Regions from separate parts of the Homo sapiens genome. Here region 2 is linked to region 1. The links are contacts of gene promoters, found by promoter capture Hi-C in blood cells and fetal thymus (Javierre and others, 2016). All regions are on one chromosome and are shown on one strand. Each heading gives the region's core, a stretch centred on a gene start or on the middle of the fragment in contact. The rest is flanking DNA. Distances are from core to core; before and after follow the strand shown. Region 1 holds the start of TMX1 (thioredoxin related transmembrane protein 1). Region 2 holds the start of PTGER2 (prostaglandin E receptor 2).

The links. Contacts are between HindIII fragments. The CHiCAGO score rates a contact against its expected background, and 5 or more counts as called.
Region 2: a contact is called between the fragment with the promoter of PTGER2 here and the fragment with the promoter of TMX1 in region 1, in 1 of 17 cell types (activated CD4 T cells). The highest score is 5.7, in activated CD4 T cells.

What each region holds. Positions count from the first base shown.
Region 1 is chr14:51,235,046-51,242,862 of GRCh38, forward strand. It overlaps TMX1 (thioredoxin related transmembrane protein 1), which reads left to right and starts at 5,202. Exons shown (of 8, transcript NM_030755.5): 1 at 5,202-5,399. The coding sequence starts at 5,248. RefSeq lists a silencer at 5,038-5,380 and an enhancer at 5,241-5,480. The HindIII fragment of the contact is 7,115 bases long and covers 1-5,884 here.
Region 2 is chr14:52,309,447-52,317,263 of GRCh38, forward strand. It overlaps PTGER2 (prostaglandin E receptor 2), which reads left to right and starts at 4,866. Exons shown (of 2, transcript NM_000956.4): 1 at 4,866-5,945. The coding sequence starts at 5,103. RefSeq lists enhancers at 4,096-4,656, 4,657-5,216, 5,451-5,600, 5,621-5,760 and a silencer at 4,821-4,930. The HindIII fragment of the contact is 17,361 bases long and covers 1-7,817 here.

The sequences.
Region 1 (7,817 bases), core at 3,952-6,451:
CTAGGTAGAAAGAAATAAAAACAAAAACAAAAACCCTCAAGGTCTAGTTATATGCTGTCTACAGGAGACACACTTTTCAGATTAAAAAATACAAATGGTTGAAAGTAAAAGGATGGAAAAGATATATCATACAAATAGCAGCAATAAGAAAGCTGAAGTGGTTATGCTAATATCAGGCAAAATGAATATAAAACCAATAAAAAATTCTAGGTGTAAAGAAGGAAATTTTATGATGAGAAGGGTCAATCCTCAGGAATATATAACAATTATAAAGATATATGTCAGAGCCCCAAAATACATGAAACACAAACTTTCAGAACGAAGAGCAAAATAGACAATTCAACAATATTTGGAGAACTTCAATACTCCACTTTCAACAATGGACAGAACAAGTAGGCAGAATATCAACAAGAAACTAGAAGACTTGAACAACACTATACACCAATCAGACCTAACAGACATCTAACTATAGAACACCCAGTGATGGAAGAATGCAAATTCTTCTCAAGTGATGGAATATTCTCTGGGATAGGCCATATACCAGGCCATAAAACAAATCTCAATAAATTTTAAAAAGATTGAAATCATACAAGGTATGTTCTCTGACCACAATAGAATGAAATTAGAAATTAATAACAAAAATAAATTTGGGAATTCACAAACGTGAAAATGAAAAACACACTCCTAAATAGCCAATTGACAAAAAAGGGTATCAAAAGAGAAAATTAGTATATGCTTTGAGATGAATGAAATGATGACACAACAAAACAAAAGTTATGGGATACAGCTAAAGCAGGGTTGGGAAATTTAGAGCTTAAACACATACGTTAAAAAAATAAAGATCTCAAATCAATAATCATAACTTTCATCTTAAAACAATCAGGGTAAAAGGGGGCATAAACCCAAAGCATAAAGAAGAAGGAAATAATCAAGAAGAGAATAGAAAAATGGTAGAGAAAACCAACAAAACTAAAAGTTGGTGCTTTGGAAAGGTCAACAAAATTGAGAAACCTTTAGCTATACTGACTTTGTTTTGTGTTGCTATAACAGAAGGCTGGGTAATTTATAAACAAAATAGGTCATGATTATTAGCTCGTGGTGCAAATGGCTGGGAAGCTCAAGGGCATGGCCCTGGCTTCTGGTGAGGTCTTCTGTGCTGGGTCATAACATGGCACAGAAGGTCAAAAGGGAAGCGGACAAGTGCAAAGAGAGAAAACCTAAGGGGTATCCTGGCTTTATAACAACCCATTCTCAAGGGAACTAATTCATTCCCAAGAGAACTAATCCAGTCTCATCAGAGTGAGAACTCACTCACTATGAGAACAACACCAGGGCCAGCATTGAGGCTATCACCTTTACTTGGGAGGCTGAACTGGAGGAGCACTTGAGACCAGGAGTTTGAGGTTGTAGTGAGTCATGATTGCACCATCTCTCCCCAGCCTGAGTGACAGAGAGATACCCTATATATTTTTTTTAAAAAAGAACAGCACCAAGCCATTCACAAGATCCACCCCCTTTATTCAAATCCCTCCCAATAGGCCCCACCTCCCAATACCATCACATGGGGAATCAAATTTCAACATGAGTTTTGATGGAGACAAACTCAAACCATATCCAAACCATAACACTGACCAATAAATAAAAGAAAGAAGACTCAAATTACTAAAACCAGCAATAAAGAGAGGACATTAATATCAATGTTACAGATATAAAAAGGATTATAATACTATGAACAACGTTAGGCCAACAAATTAGACAACTTACATGAAATGGACGTATTCCTAGAAAGATGCAAACTACCACAACCAACTCAAGAAGAAATAGAAAATCATAGTAGACTTATAACAAGAGATTGAATTAGTAATTTAAAAGCTACCTACAAAGGAAAGCCCAGGCCTAGGTGACTTCACTGCTAGACTCTATCAGACAGTTAAAGAAGAGTTAATACAAATTCTTCACAAACACTTCCAAAAAATAGAAAAGGAGGGAACACTTCCCAGCTTATTTTACGAGGCCAGTTATATCCTGATAGCAAAACCAAAGACATTACAAGAAAACTACAGACCAATATCTCTAAGGAATATAGACATAAAAATATGCAACAAAATACTAGCAAACTGAATGTGGCAATATATAAAAAGAATTATACACCATGGCTAAGTGGGATTTATACCAAGAATGCAAGGTTGATTTCATGTCCCAAAATCAATCAATGTAATACACTGTATCTTTGGGAGGCTGAGGCAGGCAGATCATGAGGTCAAGAGAAAGAGACCATCCTGGCCAACATGGTGAAACCCCGTCTCTACTAAAAATATAAAAATTACCTGGGCGTGGTGGCACGTGCCTGTAATCCCAGCTACTCGGGAGTTGAGGCAAGAGAATTGCTTGAATCCAGGAGGCGGAGGTTGCAGTGCGCTGAGATCACACCACTGCACTCTAGCCTAATGACAGAGCAAGACTCCGTCTCAAAAAAAAAAAAAAAAAAAAAACAAAAAAAACACCATATCAATAGAGTAAAGGACAAAAACCACATGGTCATTTCAATAAATGCAGAAAAAGGATTTGTCAAAATTCAACACTTCTTCAAGATAAAAACAGACGACCTTCTAGGAATAGAAGGAAACTTCCTCACCTGTATAAAAGGCAACTATTTAGAATTCACATTAACATCATACTTAGTGGTAAAAGACAACGCTTTTCTCCTAAGAACAGGAACAAGATAAGTATGTTTGGCCACTCTTGCCATTTCTATTCAACATTGTAATGGAGGTCTAGTGTCTTAGCTTGGGCTGCCATAATAAAATATCATAGACTGGGTGGCTTAAACAATAGAAATTTATTTTCTCACAAATTTAGGAAGTTCTCATTGTACTCAAGGCAAGAAAACTCTGGACTAGGGTGTTGGCTGTTGAGATGGAAATTGGTGGTCAGATTCAGGATACGTTTTGAAGGTAACGTTTACAAGATTTGCTCATAGGTTACAAGAGGAGAAGGTGAAGAGAGAGAACAATAAAGAATTAACATGTACATGTTTGGCTAGAGAAACCTGGTGAACCTCGGGGCTCTTTAGTGGATGGAAGACCAGGAGAGGAAGAATCAAGAATTATCTTTTTTGGCCGTTTGATGTTTGAGCTTCTGAACCCCCAAAATCTGAGACAGGTCTCAGTCAATTTAGGAAGTTTATTTTGCCAAAATTAAGAATGCGCGCCCATGACATAGCCTGAGGAGGTGCTGAGGACATGTGCCTAAGGTGGGTGGAGCACAGCTTGATTTTATATTATATATTTTAGGGAGACATGAGACATCAATCAACATATGTAAGATGAACATTGTATTGGCCTGGAAAGGTGGGACAACTCAAAGCAAAGGCGGGACAAACTCGAAGCCAGGAAGGGGCTTCCAGGTCATAGGTGGGTAAGAGACAAATGGTGGCATTCTTCTAAGTTTCTGATTAGCCTTCCAAAGGAGGCAATCAGATATGCATTTATCTCAGTGAGAAGAAGGATGAGAGGCAGGTTTGCCCTAAGCAGTTCCCAGCTTGACTTTTCCCTTTAGCTTAATGATTTTGGGGCCCCAAGATTTCTTTTCCTTTCACCAGCTATTACATACCCAAGAGATGTTTAGCAAGGAGTTGAATACATATGCCTGTAGTTCCCAGAAGGATCAGAGTCTGAATGATATACAGTTGAATACATATGCCTGTAGTTCCCAGAAAGATCAGAGTCTGAATGATATACAGTTGAATACATATGCCTGTAGTTCCCAGAAAGATGAGAGCCTGATGATATGAAGAGAAAGGTGGCGGGAGATGGGGGGCGGGGGGCAGTAAAGCATCCTGGAGATGCCGATGTCCGGAAGTAAAGGAGGACCAGCCAAGAAGTTTGAGAAGAATCAGCTACTGTAGGACAGAAAAAAAAGCGAGCTGCCCAGACAGCAAGATAGTAAAGTGTTTCAAGGGTGTGGTAGAATGGGGCTAGGAGTCATGCTAGATGCATTGAGAAGAAACAATTGGGATTTATCTTGCTGGTCGCTGGTGTCCTTGAGAGGGCTATTCAGTGGAGGGGTGGGGAAGGGGACTAATTGGGGTTAATTAAGTTGAAAAGGTGAGGTAAGATAGTGGCAACTATTTCCTTGAGACTTAGTCTCTCTCTATAGCCCAGATTGGAGTGCAGTGGAATGATCTCGGTTCACTGCAACCTCCGCCTCCCGGGTTCAAGCGATTCTCCTGCCTCAGCCTCCTGAGTAGCTGGGACTACAGGCGCCTGCCACCACGCCTGGCTAATTTTTGTATTTTTAGTAGAGACGGGGTTTCACTATGTTGGTCAGGCTGGTCACAAACTCCTGACCTCAAGTGATCCGCCTGCCTTGGCCTCCCTGTTTTGCTAGGATTACAGGCGTGAGCCACCGCACCTGCAACTATTTTCATTTGACTGATGGGGCAGTGCACATTTTGGTTTGCATTTGTATTTACGAATGTTTGAGAGAAAAAACTCAAATATCTTACAAGCCTATGTGTCTGGTTCCATTTTGAAGTACTGACCTAGGATCTCTGTACCTACTGAATTTTTTTTGAGAGATAACATACACCTGAAAGTGCATAAAGTGCACTGTCTTAAAATGTACAGCTTGATCCTTCTTTAAAAAAAATCATATACGTACGCCCATGTAACTACTGTTCATATCTAGATGTTGAACACCTCCAACACATCCAACATAACCATAATGTTCCTCTGCACCTTCCCTGTCTATAATCTCTCAGAAGTAAACCAATATTCCGACTCCTATAAAATCCATTAGCTTTACTACATGTTTCAAAGAAAACAAATGAGAACTCTGAAGGACATTTAATTGGAAAACTGCTTTAGCACATTATAAACTTACCAATTTGCTTGTAAACGCTAACCATTTGGCGCCAAAATCCTGGGAGGGTCTTTTAAACCGTTCTTCCTCAAAGCACCGCCCCACTTTTTACACCACGCCTCCTTTTGCTCTGTTCCTTCCCCCACAATATTGGGACACCCTAGGCGGTAGAAGCAGCCGCTTTTCTGTCATGCGCATTGCGGAGAGTCGTTCTTCCCTCTTTCCCGACTTCACCACTCACTGGGATCAGACCCCTGTCATGCGCATTGAGAGTCCTCTAGACAGGCGCTCCTCGCAGCACCGTAGTGCGCTTGCGCTGAGCAGCCCGCGAGGGCGGAAGTGGGAGCTGCGACCGCGCTCCCTGTGAGGTGGGCAAGCGGCGAAATGGCGCCCTCCGGGAGTCTTGCAGTTCCCCTGGCAGTCCTGGTGCTGTTGCTTTGGGGTGCTCCCTGGACGCACGGGCGGCGGAGCAACGTTCGCGTCATCACGGACGAGAACTGGAGAGAACTGCTGGAAGGAGACTGGATGATAGAATTGTGAGTGCGGGGCGGCCAGGGTCCTACGTCCGTGCCTGGACACACGACTTCACCCCGCACGTTCCTCGTGCGGGTCGCAGGCTCCCCAGGACTGCGCCTCCGAGTTGCGGAGCGAGCGTCCCCGACTTCTGCAGCTCCCCAAACTCTTGGGATCTGCCGCCAGCTTGGTCCCACCCCCTCGTCTCTTACCCGTGAATGTTAAGTTTCTTCTGGGGTGCACCCTCGTTTCGTTTCTTGGGTTGTGGTGCGCCCAAAGGGTTAGTGCCAATGCGAATTCTGACATTTTTCATGACTTTGAGGATGCGACTGGGGCGCGGGGAGGGAGGTGTCCGACTCGTGTCTAAGTAGTTAAAGTGATTCTTCACAGACTTCTACACTTATTTTCACCACATTTTACATAAGAGAATATTGAGCAAAATTTCTCCTCTCGTTTTGTCTGTCCTTAAAAGATAGTCTCTTTATGGTGTTGGAATTTGGCGCTTTTAAGCTTTTTTTAATGGATTGGGTACGTTTCTTTTTTATTGTAAATACTGAGTCAATTCAAGTTGGGTTATTTTTAAGTTTTCGTTTTCTCTTTTTGCCTCCTCTTTTGCTTTCTCTTTTTTTCACTCCTCATCTCATTTTTCCTTTGGGTGTCTTTGTAGTGTAGAGAATACCTTGGGTTGTGACTCCTAGGTCTTTGTAAATGGTATTACATTAAAAGATAATGTATTAATGTATACACTCTCAAGAGCGCCAGGTCATCATTTATTGCTCGAACGAAATCATGTATTTTGTGTGGTGATTTCAATTTAATAATATCTGTTCTGCCGCGGTGGGAAATAAAGTATCTGTCTTTGCTTTAGATGCTAAGTCGTTGTTGATGGTGGTATTATACATATTAGCAGTATTTACTGATAATAGTAAAAGCATAATTATTAACAGTGTACTGGACACCACTAAGCACCTTTACACGAATACCATATTTAATTCCCTACAAATTCTCTATGACAGGTGTTTTTCACGTTTTACAAATGAGTAACAAGATACCTAAATACTTTAGTTAACCTATGCAGATATTGCTGTGCTGGCTTTCTTTGGGTCTTCAGAGTAGGCATACAATAATTGTTGTTAGAACACCTTCTTCTTTAAAAAGGTTCAGCTGGAAGTGGCGTACGCTACCCAGGAGATTGAGGTATGAGGATGACTTGAGCCCAGGGGTTCAAGAGATCCTGGGCAACTAGCAAAATAAATAAGTAAATAAATAAAAATGAAAAGACAACAGGGTTCAGGTGAGTGTTTTCTTGTGTCACGAATACAGCAAGGGTTGTCAAGTTAAGGAGGCCAGTGAAAGTGACATCCCCAAGGGAGAACCCAGAAGGCTAAATCAGTAAGTCCTGTGTTATTTTTTAAAAAAACAAAACTGGCCGGCGCGGTGGCTCACGCCTGTAATCCCAGCACTTTGGGAGGCCGAGGCCGGTGGATCACGAGGTGAGGAGATCGAGACCATCCTGGCTAACACGGTGAAACGCCGTTTGTACTAAAAATACAAAAAATTACCTGGGCGTGGTGGCACGCGCCTGTAGTCCCAGCTACTCGGGAGGCTGAGGCAGAAGAATCGCTTGAATCTGGGAGTCAGAGGTTGCAGTGAGCCGAGGTCGCACCACTGCACTCCAGCCTGGGCGACAGAGTGAGACTCAATCTCAAAAAAAAAGTAGAACATTTATATGGAGGGTAAGATAAAGGGAAATTTTCATAGTATGCATGTAGTCTGCAATTCTGAAATGAATTTTCATTCAGGCACCATTGAAAGCTTCAGGGGAGAGGAACTGTGACACTTTTTCAGTCATCATCATGAGTAACTTGTTTTAGATCGTGCCTGTAAAATAGTGTTATAAGCAATATATTAAGCAATAGTGATCGTGTGTGTATATGCAAAATACAGTCAAGTATTACTCAAGGATATTTTTTAACTCATTATGGTCCAACTATATAAATACAGCAATCAGAAGTAGTATTAAGGAGAACAAGACTAACAAAACATTGAGTATGAGGTAAATCCACATTGGAGCATCTATCTGAAATTATGCTATAGAGTAGTAGTTTTTCTTTTTCCTTAAGTAGAGATTCTAAAGTAAGTTTTTAGAAAGCAACTGACAGCCTGGGCAACATGGCAAAAACCAGTCTCTACAAAAAAATACGAAAAATTAGCTGGGCGTGTGGGCAGGCATCTGTAGTCCCAGCTACTTGGGCTGAGGTGGGAGGATGTCTTGAGCCCGGGAGGTTGAGGTTGCAGTGAGCCCAGATGGCGCCACTGCCCTCCAGCCTGGGTAACAAAGCGAGACCCTGTTTCAAAAAATAAAAAAGCAACTGAGCAACAAAACGAACCTGAAAAAGAAGGACTCTAGTAGTTTTAGTAATAGTCTGCTCCTAATTACA
Region 2 (7,817 bases), core at 3,616-6,115, 1.1 Mb after region 1:
GGATGACAATATGACCAAATTCTGGCTAAAAAGACAGAGGGAAGTCTATCTGGATGCTTCTAGAAAGCCTTTTGCTTTCCTGATGGAAGAAACAGGCACAAGAGAGAGCAAGCTCACCAGCACTGTCTCTCCTTTGCCCCTGGCTTCCATGTAGACTTGATGCCTAGACCCGTGGGACAGTAGTTGGCTTCGTATTGTGTTGGTCCAGCTAAGCAGCATCTGTTACGCAGAATCCTCCCATAGTTCCAGGTTAGCATTGGCCACAAGGGAAATATTGCATGAGATCTGGGAGGCAGCAACCAAGCAGCAGCCATGGTTTTTATGCTGTGAAGGACAACACAAGGCGTGAGGAACATTGGCAGTTCTCACGCATTGTCGCTGACCTGCTGCCTCACCTTGCTGGCATGGGGCAGCAAGACTCACAGTTCCTCCTGCTCCCACCAGATCTCCTCCTATGGCTTCTTCAAGTCCTAAGCCAAGTGCATCTGTAGCTCGGTAAAGGGTGCCAGCATGTTTTGCAGGACACCTGTATTATTGAGGCTGGAGACAGTGAGAGACACAGGCAGATCCGGTCTGTCCTAAAGGACTTCAGTCATTCATGAATTTCAGTTTGTTCTCACAGATTCCAGTCTGTTCTTGCTATCATCCACATCCAACTTTCTGCCCTGACTGAAATCCTGACTGACCTATAGTGACTTCAGACTCAACACTAGAACCGAAGACAACAAACAGCCATGCCAGGACTCCTCCACCAGGTCTCACATCCTGCAAGGTCTAGGGCAGCACTGTCCAGTAGAACTTTCTGTGATGATGGAAGTGTTTTATTGGGCACCTGAGCTGCCCAATATGATACCCACAAGTCACACGTGGCTATTGAGCATTTGAAATGTGCCCAGTGCTGTAGAGGAGCTAAGTTGTTACTCTTATTTAATGTTAATTAATTTAAATTTAAATAGCCAGATGTGGCTAATGGCTACAATATTGGTCAAGGGAGGCCTAGTGCCTAATAATAAATTCCATGTTTTCTTAATCACTCGTAGTGGCTCTGTTTCTCTGGTTGAATCCTGACTGATACAGGCAGCAGCTGCTAGCTACATGGGGAGAGCATGGAGACACAAAGCCAGCATTACTAGGAATCACAGGGCTAGAGGAAGAAGCAGCCTGGCTCCTGGAAGTTCAACCAGCCTACAACCTTTGAACTTCTTAGTAAGAAAAAAAATAGACCCCCAGTGGGCAGTGAACTATCACTGTGTACTTCCAATAAACCCTGTCTCTTTTCTTGGTGGCTTCTGCTTCCTGCCGTGAAGTGTAGACCTTGTCTCAAATACCACAGGACACAGATGGTGTTCTTAGGACTCAATTTGAAAAAAAAATGTATTTATGCATGCATAGGAATCATAAAATATAAATTTAAACTCGTCTTTTGAACGAGGAAAGTAACATCAATAAAACTATGAACAAGAATTAATGTTAGCTTTTTGCCCAAGCAATTCTCCTTTCCTTCATGTTTATCTTTGCTTTCTCTTGAAGAATGACCTAAAGGAAGTAACCCACCTTCCACAGTCCTTTGAATTCATGGATACATAAATGAACACTATGAACTTTAGACTTTAAGAAGTGTATATTAGTCAGGGTTTGCCAGAGAAACAGCCAGTAGGATGGATATACATAAAGATATTTATTATAAAGTATCAACTCATGCAATTGTGGAGGCTGAGAAGTCCCACAATCTGTCATGTACAAGCTGGAGACCCAGTAAAGCTGGTGACAAAGTTTGAAAGTCTGGGAGCTGAAGAGCCAGTGGTGTAGATTCCAGTCCTGGTCTGAAGGCCTGAAAACCATAAGTGTCAGCGGCAGGAGATCAATGTCCCCACTCATGCAGTGAGGCAGAGAGTGAATTTCACCTTCCCCTACTTTTTTAGTCTATTCAAGCCCTAATGGATTGCATGAAGCCCACCAACACTGAGAAGGGCATGTGCTTTACTCAGTCCATCAACTCAAACACTAATCTCCTCCAGAAACACTTTCACAGACATACCCCGCCATCATGTTTAACCAGCTACCTGGGCATCCCATGGCCTAGTCAAGTCGACACATAAAATTAACCATCACATAGTGTTCCCCACATACAATGGCCCCACAAACAGGAACTAAACAATTAGCAAAGCTCTATGGCTCAATTCTAGAATTGAGGGTGTTAATCTGTTTTCTGTTAAGGAACTCTAGGCTCTATGTAAACTGAAACTGTATCAAAATGCTGACACTAAAATTAGAAATGGGAAGAAGTAGCTTTTAAACCACAAAATTAACTGGGGGTAACTGACAAGCAAGATTAGACTTGCACTTAAAGGAACAAACGTGATGGTCCAGTTGCTACGTAGCGACAGCAAACTTATCAACTCTCCTACTCAGCAATCTAGCAACAGGGAACACAGCAAACTGCTAAACCAAACACACACACACACACACACACACACACACACACACATATGTATGTATTCTGTCCAAATGCTGGAAGCAATTAAAAGGAGTAATTTGAACAAGCAATGCTGAGCAGCACAGTAATTAATAGGATACTGGCCTCCCAAGATTTATAGGGCCCACTCTAGTCTTCCTCTTGTCACATACCTTACCACAGGTGAGACACCCTCAGGGCACTATTCACCCAGACCCCATTACCCCTCCATTCTAGACCACCTTCCAGGTACCTGAGATCATGAAATTTCCTGCTCAAATGTTGGTCCCATAACTCGCTTCCAGGGCTTGATCAGGCATCTTCCCTAGGTCCATCCAATCAAGGGTCATTTGCATGTTTGAGATGCATATTCCCAGGACCAAGGTGGCTTTGGGGAGAGAGCTTGGTTATCAACAACTATAGTGTCCACATATTGAACTATACTGTCCACATATTGAACTATACTCTCCACATATTTCTGTGCAAGACTCCTTGTGGTGCAAGACTGAGTCAGGGGTTAGGAAGACAAGGGGGCAGGGGCCTGGGGGAGGATCTTCAACTGCACTCTTGCTCTCGTATTCACAAAAACCAGGGGCCGGCCTGCCACCAGGTACCCATCCAAAGAAAAGCTAGAGACAAATATATAGGAAAGGTTAAATAGTAGGTTTTTGTTGTGAGGGGCCTTATGAAAATTAAAAAGGTATAAAAATATTCGGAAAATAAGCACTGTGCAAATTCAGTGAATCTAAAATCCCTTATTTAATAGTAAAACTGCAGTGCAGAATTATGCTATAAATCATAGTGTTTTCCTATTAAGAAATACTTCTGATTTAAGTTTGATGTTTCCCCATTGCTTGGGGTGAGATGGGGGAATGTTGGAGTAGGGGAATAGTCAGAGATGGATGGCAAAGATTGGTAATAAGTTGTTACTGACCTGCAGAGTTTACAGCTTGAAAGAAAAACTGTAGGAGTTAAGATCCTCTTTCCTAGGAATCCATGCCATGAGAAGTTTAGGGATTGAAGTAGTGCCTGCTGACATGTGAAAACCGGCCTGTAAACTTTGCAAGCGATCCAGTAAATTATGCTTGTTCTAGTGGGAACCACCCCCCCCAACTCCGCATTCCAATCCCCAGGCCAGAATCATCAAAGTTGGCAAAAAATATTCATGGAGAGTAAGCAGGCTGTAGCAAGATAGGCTCTTCAGCAGGCAATCTTTGCTTCCTCCCACGTTATGACTGTCTTTCTTGCCAGTTCCCTAGGCAGATCAGACCCTTCACTTCCCAGTTGGCCTCCCTTCCCCAAGTGAATGTGACTTCTTACAGAACACAATTACCTATGTTGTCTGCCAAACTGGATTTTGTTTTGTTTTGTTTTGTGTTAAATATCAGCCCATTTTCACGACTCTGCAATTATGACAATATGTGGTAGGAAACCATTACTGTCAGCTCCAGTCTGAAACTGGCCACTTACCAATACACTTTGCCAGGAACAAGTCTTTCTGGATGGATACTACGTGGTTAACAACATGTAAAGATAAACGGCTAAACAAAATATCAACATTTTCTTACAAGGCTCAGCTTAAGGACAGAACAGTGATGTGCAATGGTTTTCATGTTGTATCCACAAACACAATTCTGTATAAGACACACTCCTCTTTTTTTAATGGTTGCTTAAACAAGTGGTTATCCGTTATGCTGTTGACATAGGAAACGGTGAAATGCTAGTAACCGAATCAAAGCGGCAGTGCAACAGGCCGCTCGGTGGTGCGCATTGTGTGGTTTGGTTCCTTGGATGGACACACTTGCTTTACGCTTCATCCCAATTTTTGTCCCAACCTCTTAGTGTATCTTCCTGGGAATAGTAAAAACAAAGCAAAACATTCTGGTCTTACTTCAAGCTGCCTTTGCACTGTTATTCCCTTGTTCCGCTCATTTCACGGGATTGGGTTCTCCTAACTTCATTGTTTGGTGAGTTGCTTTGCTTTGCTCGTTGCCCCGATCTTCTGTGTATTCTGCGCAGACCCCGCAAGTGCTCCTGCACTCCCTCCCAGCCCTCTGCTGGGGCTTAACGCTTCCCAGCCGAGGTCAGACTGCCGTGCGCTTCGAGTACCGGACCCCGAGGAAGCGAGAAACGCCGCTCCCGCCGGTCGCGGGCAGCTTCAGTACACCGGCAACACGCGCGCCTCTGCCCAGTGCCGCGCCCAGCGGGTGCTCAGACTCCTTCTCTCCCTCCCCGCCGGCGCGCCCCAGGGACTCGGAACGCCCCCGCGAGTGTGACGCGTCCTGCCTCCCCTGCAGCTCGCGGACACTCGCACTTGCAAGGCCTGGCCAGCACTCTTGGGCCCGCCCCCCGACAGTGCGGGGGCGGAGACGACGGCTCCCCTAGGCTCTGGCTCCCGGCCTTGGCCGGCGCGGGTAGGCGCGGGAGCCTCGAGCGCCGCTCGGATGCAGCAGCCGAGCCGCCACTCGGCGCGCGGCGGGAGACCCAGGGCAAGCCGCCGTCGGCGCGCTGGGTGCGGGAAGGGGGCTCTGGATTTCGGTCCCTCCCCTTTTTCCTCTGAGTCTCGGAACGCTCCGGCTCTCAGACCCTCTTCCTCCCAGGTAAAGGCCGGGAGAGGAGGGCGCATCTCTTTTCCAGGCACCCCACCATGGGCAATGCCTCCAATGACTCCCAGTCTGAGGACTGCGAGACGCGACAGTGGCTTCCCCCAGGCGAAAGCCCAGCCATCAGCTCCGTCATGTTCTCGGCCGGGGTGCTGGGGAACCTCATAGCACTGGCGCTGCTGGCGCGCCGCTGGCGGGGGGACGTGGGGTGCAGCGCCGGCCGCAGGAGCTCCCTCTCCTTGTTCCACGTGCTGGTGACCGAGCTGGTGTTCACCGACCTGCTCGGGACCTGCCTCATCAGCCCAGTGGTACTGGCTTCGTACGCGCGGAACCAGACCCTGGTGGCACTGGCGCCCGAGAGCCGCGCGTGCACCTACTTCGCTTTCGCCATGACCTTCTTCAGCCTGGCCACGATGCTCATGCTCTTCGCCATGGCCCTGGAGCGCTACCTCTCGATCGGGCACCCCTACTTCTACCAGCGCCGCGTCTCGCGCTCCGGGGGCCTGGCCGTGCTGCCTGTCATCTATGCAGTCTCCCTGCTCTTCTGCTCGCTGCCGCTGCTGGACTATGGGCAGTACGTCCAGTACTGCCCCGGGACCTGGTGCTTCATCCGGCACGGGCGGACCGCTTACCTGCAGCTGTACGCCACCCTGCTGCTGCTTCTCATTGTCTCGGTGCTCGCCTGCAACTTCAGTGTCATTCTCAACCTCATCCGCATGCACCGCCGAAGCCGGAGAAGCCGCTGCGGACCTTCCCTGGGCAGTGGCCGGGGCGGCCCCGGGGCCCGCAGGAGAGGGGAAAGGGTGTCCATGGCGGAGGAGACGGACCACCTCATTCTCCTGGCTATCATGACCATCACCTTCGCCGTCTGCTCCTTGCCTTTCACGGTAAGTCACTCCCTACGTTTCCACAGCCCGGCTCTGCTCAGCCTTCTCATGCTCTCCCCTGACGCCTCCACCCTTTCCACCGCCCTACAAACTTTTTGCAACTTGTAAAAATATGTCCTAATTTGTAAAGATCTGTAGCCTTCCCCACTAGTTTCCCCTCCTCTTTAGCCCACTTCCTTATCCTGGCTTATGGGCGTTGCTAGGCTAGAGTTTCTTATACAATAATACAGACCGTCCGAAAGGGAGTCCTGGGCCTCAGCTAAGCTAGCCAATCTCCTCATCCTAGCCCTGGGCAGTGTCCCTTTCTCGCTGTTGCCTATCTTGGCTTAGTAATTGAGAAAGAGGCAGCCCCTTCCACCTTAGGATGGCTGTCACTGTTCCAGCCTGACGACCTGGAGCTGCAGTTTGCTGCCCTGTACCTCTCATCCACTGGTGCTGGTTCTCCATGCTTGCCTTCTGTTCCTGCCAGGGCAAAATGTAGTACCCAACCCATAGCATTCCAGCTGCCATTGAAAATGGTCCCAGATGAGAAGGGTCCCTGAAGCAGAAGTTTAGAGCATTTGTTATTTGTCCTAAAAGTCCAACAAACATCTAGTTTATAGGTTTCCCAATTTATATATTTGAATGTAACTCTTTGTGGCCATGAAAGTTTATAAAACCATAATGATAACTAGAGGAAATACTTGGAGGAACATCTTGCTAAGCATTTGTAATATCTTGCAAAACACGCTCTTAATGTCACTGTCAGAAATACACACAGGTGTCCTTCAGCTTACAGTTATGCACTTGATGAGCACAAAGCCACAGGCAGGAATGGCTGGTCCCTCTCAGGAAGGGAAGAGTGGGGCTACCTGGGGAACTGAAGGACAAGAGACCAAGTCCTGGCATCGTGCTGCCTTGATTTGGGGCAACTTTAGCAGTTATTTGATGCTAACTAACTGCTAAATGATATGAGGCTGTGAGTTCAAGTCTCCTCAAGTGTAACGTTTTAGCTGAGCCTGGAATATGTCCGAGAATGTGCTGGCCTCTTACGGGGGCTAGGAATTGGGAGTTGTGGCAACTCCACTTCCTAATCTTCAGAAGAGCAAGACTGATGCTGCAGCATCAAAGCAGTTAATAGTGACTTCCACCTGCCACAATCTTGGAGAAAAGAGATGGGCAGTGCCTACTATTAACAGGTCTGACCTGTAAAAGCTGGAGGAGAAGTAACTTTATCCTATCTCCTGCCTCCATTACTGCTTCTTACATCTTCATGTGCTCATCCTCAGGGATGGGAAGGGACACAGGGTCCCAAAGGTCTGAATATGATTCTCTCCTCCCCAGCCCAGTTAACTCCCTTAGCTACGTTCTCTTCTCCCTGGTCCCCACTGTCCTCACCCTTCTACCCCATCCTCTGTCAGGGCAGAAACTGTTCTGAATTGGTTACACTTTGAGGGAATGAGATAGAATATTCAAAGACGCCCTCTTATAAAATGAAGTCGGACTGTGGGAGGCTGCATCTCCCATACCACTCTGAGCAGGGGAGTTTATGCAACAGAAACGCTGTGATGTAGAAACCCACATGGCTTATATGCTTTTGATTTATTTTACTGGTAGGAGCTTTTGATTATGTTAGGAGCTAAATCAGCTTTTGAAGGTCAGCACTAGGATGCAGAACATATATCTATGAAAGAAAGCATTTCAAGTTCCACCAAACAGCTTTGCATTCAGCTTGGGGATCAGAAACTATTCCTGAAAGACTGTCTTAGGGTGTTGGGAATTAAGATAATCAGTTCTTAGGGTTTTATCTGTCATTTGTGAGTATATTTATAAAAATATCCCCCACTATCAGCTACTTAAATAGCCTGGGAATGGGTTTGGGGTGATAACACA